2 separate regions of the Homo sapiens genome follow, and region 2 is linked to region 1. Evidence: promoter capture Hi-C in human tissues and cell types (Jung and others, 2019). All regions are on one chromosome and are shown on one strand. The core of a region is centred on a gene start or on the middle of the fragment in contact, and the rest is flanking DNA. Distances in the headings are between cores, read along the strand shown. Region 1 holds the start of ZNF665 (zinc finger protein 665). Region 2 overlaps ZNF836 (zinc finger protein 836).

Region 1 (2,719 bases), core at 144-2,643:
CGGCCGACACAGTTGTTTCCTAGTAAGATAGGAAAAGATCTTTTTCTCATGGGCTATTATGTTGTTATTTGAGTTAATACAGGTAAAGTATTCCGAATAATGCCTTGCACATAGTGTTCAGAAAAGTCAGTCATTGCTATTGCCATTATCATCACAGTTTTTACTTCTGGCCAGTGTTTCTGTAAAGCCACTGTGGACCTTGTCACCTCAGAAGACATCATTCGTGCTTTAGCTTATCTAGATACGGAGTATCACTTAGTGTGTTGAAAATAATATCTAACACTTCTATAGAGATCAGCTTGTGTTTGGGTTTTTATTTGTCTATTTATTGTATTGTCCACAAAACTGAAAACTCCACACAGATTTAGAGGCTATTATAACTACTTAGGGAAAAGTACAATAAAACAGAATTAGGGAGACATAACTTGCTCAAAAATGCCTTCACGCTGGGGCGGTGGCTCAGTGAGCCGAGATCATGCCATTGCATTCCAGCCTGGGCGACAAGAGCAAGACTCTTGTCTAAAAAAAAAAAAAAAAAAAAAAAAACAACAACAAACCTCACATATTCGTATTTAAGAATATAGGAAACACTGATTCAGTTTCTTCTACTGTTCTCTCACAACACAGAATGCTACAGTTAGCCCAGAGGTACTGGGTTTTCCCACACACACCAAGCAAGCAATCCTGCCACAGACACCAGGTGCGTGTTCTCTCATTCCGTTCCATTTTGCCGGGACATGGCATCAGATCCCACACGTTGAGGGCTCAGTCCCACAATAGTGCACACATTTCAATGCCAGTCTCAAGCAGAGGTTGTGACTTGTGCTTACAGATCAGATATAAATCCAGGAGTCCCTTGACCCCCTCCTCAGGTTCAACGAATTTGCTAGAGTGGCTCACAAAATACAGGGAAACACTTTACATAGATTTACGTATTATAAAGGATATTACAAAGTTGACAGAAGAACAGCCAGATGGAAGGGATCAGTGAGGTGAGGCATGGGAGAAGGGGCGTTGAGCCTTGGTGCCCTCCCTGGGTGCACCACGCTGCAGGAGCCTCCCAGTGTTCACCTATCCAGAAGCTCCGCTGAATCCTCTCCTTTTGGGTTGTTATGGCGCCTTCATTACATATGCATGATTGCTTATATTACTGGCCATTGGTTAAACTTTTAGATAGCCTAAGTTTTGTTTTTTTTTTTTTTTGGGAGAGACGAAGTCTCACTCTGTCACCCAGGCTGGAGTGCAATGGCGCGATATCGGCTCATTGCAACCTCCGCCTCCAGGGTTCAGGCCCCGCCCCGGCCCCGCCCACCCTATGCTCTCAGTCCCTCCCAACGCCTGGCCTTTCCCCACCGCAACCCGCCCCTTTGCCTACTGCGCGGGCAGTTTCTTGCAAACCCGGAAGCAGATCTCTTGGAGTGAAGGCTGTTAGTCGCCGCGTGAGTTTCCCTCTATCTAGATTAAACCTGCGTTTCGGAGTCCCCTGCTCCTCCGTACCCGATGTCCGGGGGTTCGTATAGCCCTTAAAGTCCCCGCACGGCTCCCTCCATTCCATGTAAATTCAGACTTTGCCGCGAGACTCTGGGGGTCGCATCGCTTTGGGTTAAAATCACACAGGCTGGTCCTGCCCGCGGTCTTTCGGCCTTCAGACCATGCAGACACCTCCTTTCCTGCGCCGTTTCCTGCTTAAAACCCTTTACTGACCTGCGCCCTGTGAAGTCCTCATCTGCGAAGTGGGTGCAGGATTTTACCGTCCCCTAACCTCGCCCTAGTCAGCTACTGGAGCGTTAGCGCCGCAGCCCCAGTCCCGGGGAGGCCGCGCCTCTGCCTGGTCCTGGGATCCTGCATACCCCACCCCTCTCCTAAGGCGCCGTCGCCCCCCACCTCCCTCCTCCTCGTGCCGGGCCCTGCTGCTCCCTAGGCCTCCCCTTCGCAGTCACCGTTTCCCCTGAGCCCGCGTTGGGGAGGTGCCCGGGCCTTGTCCTGTGATACCCGGTGTTCTTGCCTGCCCAGCTCCACCCGCTGGAAAATGTGCTCCTCCAGGATCCAGGTGTCTTACTCCAAACCCTCCCTGTGAATGTGTGGGCCAAGGGGATCAGGAGACAGAGAGGGGGGCTGAGAGAAAAGTAGAAAAACGGAGACAGAGGAAAGAATGAGGGAAACCAGTAAACATGGCAAAGTAGAGGATGGGTCAGGATTTACAAAGAGACAGTAAGGGTGAAAGAAGTCGCTGAGAAAGTAACAGGATGGAGAAACAACTGGAGAAATGTAGAGAAAAGCTCGCTGTCTAGAGAGATGAAGGACAGCAAGGTAGGGAGAGGGGCAGCTCCTCAGACGGAGAGTTAGGGAGAGGAGGGGGTATTTGGAGCCAGGATAGACAGAGCAGCGTGGTGCTGGGACAGCAAGAAGGGGCAGCTGGTGACAAGGAGAGCAGAGGGAGAACCACAGCAGGGGGAGACCTGGGATCTGGGGGTGCCAAAGAGTGGGGACAAGGAAGTGAAACAGGGAAGAGGGGATTTAACAGGGAGAGCAGAGATAAGGGAAGAAAGAGGCAGAAATAGATGGAGATTGGGGACAACCAAAAGACGGGTGAAAGAGGAATAAGAGGTGAAACAAGTTGCAAGAATGGAACAGAACAAGTGGAAGAGAAGGATAGAGGGAAGGAGAAACAGCAGGAGAAGAGAGGGGCTCAAAATGAGGAGCAGAGACCCAGGCTGAA
Region 2 (2,719 bases), core at 89-2,588, 1.0 Mb after region 1:
CGTCACTCCCTGGCGCCGGGCTCCTTGAAGTTATCTACTGGGAAATCTAGAGCTTATTGTTGGAAGGATGCAGTCTTGCAAGCCTGCTGTGATCCAAACGGCCGACTGAGTTACCAACAATCACCCCCACTTCTGGTTATCTCTTTTACCTAATAAATTTGGAGGGCTGAAAAAGCTCAGGGCCCTTGTCCACTAGAGGCAAGATGCCCCCTGGCCCCTTCTTCCAAATATACTCTCTTGTCTTTTTCTTTTATTCCCGCGTTCACCCGCTTTGTTCAGTCCACCAGGGATTGAGGTCGGTTACAACACACAAACTGTAAACCTTGGCAACATCAACACAGTGCTAACTAAAAGTGTGCAGAGGGCATGAGATGTGGACTCACGGTTACTTCCATCTAGATTTCAAAGAATGCCTCAGAGATCCTTGGAGCCTAGGCATAAAAATGCCATAGGAGTGAGGCTGTCCCTGGAAGTCCCCACTAAGGCAATGCTCAGTCTAGCTGTGGAGGTGGGGCCAACTTCAGAGAGTCCCTGTTAGGATAAGGTCCAGTAAAGCCCTGGGAGCAGGGCCACCTTTGAGACCCCAAAACTGTAGAGTCACCGGTATGTGATTCCAGCTCGGGAGAGCTGCAGGCACTGTGAGAACTTCCATGTGGGGTGATCCCAACAAAACCACTAGGGCAGGGATCCCCAGGATGTTGGGACCCAACCTCTACTCCAGGATGTCTAGAAGGTGGGACACGGAGTCAAAGATTATTGTCAAGCCTTAGTGTTTAATGTGTATGCCCTGTTGGGTTTCAGCCTTACATGGGAACAGCTACCCCTTCTTTCCTGTTTCTCCCTTTTGGAATTGAAATATTTAACCTGTGTCTGCCCCACCATTGTATTTTGGAAGCACATAACTCGTTTGCTTTCATAGGTTCACAACTAGAAAGCAGTTTGCCTTTGGATGAAATGCATGTTTGAGTCTCACCCATATCTGATTTAGATTATAGTTAGATACAACTCTAGACTATAGGCTTTTGAATTGGTTGTAGAAATAAAGCTTTGGGAGCCATTAGGATAGAATGTATTTTGTTTGTGAGAAGTATATCAATTTTGGGGGCCAGGGGTGGAATGTTACAGTCTGAGTTTTTTTTTTTTTTCTCCTCCACAATTCATGTTGAAACTTAATCCCCAGTGCCTAATCTTTAAATGTTATGAGTCGTGGCCTTTAGGAGGAGATTGGATCATGAGAAGTCTGCCTTTATCAGTGGGTATGGTGTTCTCGTCAATGAGATATCAAAAGGCTTATTCTACGGAGTTCACTGCTTTTTGCCCTTTCTGTCCCTTCTGCCATGTGGGGACAACAGCATTCGTCCCCTGTGCAGCAACAAGACCATCTTGGAAGCGAGGATCATCTCTCACCAGACATCAGTCCTGCTGGCACCTTGATCTTGGATTTCCCCAGCCAGCAGAATCATGAGAAATACATTTCTATTGTTCATAAATTACCCAGTCTGTTTTACTTGGTACAGCAGCACAGAGAGACTAAGACATACCGTAACCATAATTTAACCATTTGTTTCTTTTGATTCAAGACTGATTCTCAGACATCTGGATTTAGATGCCTGCTCTGCCATTTTCAGGTTGTTGACCTAGGTGACTTTTTAGCGTTTTCTGTGACATAGTTGTCTCCTAGTAACATGGGAACAAATCTCTCTATCTCTCTATCTATTATGTTATTATTTGAATTAGAACATGTAAAGCATTTGGAGTAATGCCCAGCACATGGGGAGTGTTCCAAAACTTCAGTCATTGCTGTTGCTGTGGTCATCACAGTTTTTAGTTTCTGACCTTTCTTTAAAGCTTCTATGGACATTGTCATCTCCAAGACACCACTTGTATACTAGCTCATCTGGACACTCAGTTGATATATTGAACATAATATCTAATACTTATACAGATAACCACGTGTTCATTTCTTTGTATATTTCTTGCATTGTACACAAAAATGAGAAGCCTACACTGATTTACGGGATATCATAATCTTCTATTGAATTTTAAAACAAACTTAAATTAGGGACACATAACCTTCTCACAGATGCCTTGCATGGATATGTGAAAACACACAATCAAATTGATGTGACAGTTCTCTCCTCTTCTCATTTTATGTATAGATAAGAGCTCTCCCATTGCTCATGTTGAAATGTGTTTTTCATTTCAGGGACCTTTGACATTCAGGGATGTAGCCATAGAATTCTCTCAGGAGGAGTGGAAATCCCTGGACCCTGTGCAGAAAGCTTTGTACTGGGATGTGATGTTGGAGAACTACAGGAACCTGGTCTTCCTGGGTAAGGATAATTTTGCTCTAGAAGTTAAGATCTGCCCTCGTGTATTTTTGTATTTTCTCTGTTGTCTTTCTTGGGAGCCCTTCCATTATTTGACTGAGACTGAAGCCTTGTTGACTCACAAATAAAAAGCTTCATAATGCTGCATCTGGCCTTTCATTTCCCATATCATCACACTATCCCCTTTTTGAATGTCTTCCCTTGTTGTCCTGTGCCCTTAGTAGAATTCCCATATTTAAGTATTAGTCAGTATAATGGTACTTTTTTTTTTTTTTTTTTTTAATGGAGACAGAGTCTAGCTTTGTCTCCCAGGCTGGAGTGCAGTGGCGTGAACCCAACTCACTGCAACCTCCGCCTTCTGAGTTCAAGCAATTCTCCTACCTCAGCCT

What was found. The method cuts DNA at HindIII sites, captures the fragments that hold promoters and counts their contacts. A contact is called where the count stands out against the background at its distance.
Region 2: a fragment that was not itself captured here is called in contact with the fragment with the promoter of ZNF665 in region 1 in 1 of the 25 tissues and cell types used here (spleen).

Annotation. Positions count from the first base shown.
Region 1 is chr19:53,192,032-53,194,750 of GRCh38, reverse strand. It overlaps ZNF665 (zinc finger protein 665), which reads left to right and starts at 1,393. Exons shown (of 4, transcript NM_024733.5): 1 at 1,393-1,439. RefSeq lists an enhancer at 1,428-1,577. The HindIII fragment of the contact is 23,654 bases long and covers 1-2,719 here.
Region 2 is chr19:52,160,079-52,162,797 of GRCh38, reverse strand. It overlaps ZNF836 (zinc finger protein 836), which reads left to right. Exons shown (of 5, transcript NM_001102657.3): 4 at 2,207-2,333. Among named protein-coding and RNA genes, the nearest start is that of ZNF836, 10 kb to the left of the region's middle. The HindIII fragment of the contact is 3,609 bases long and covers 1-2,719 here.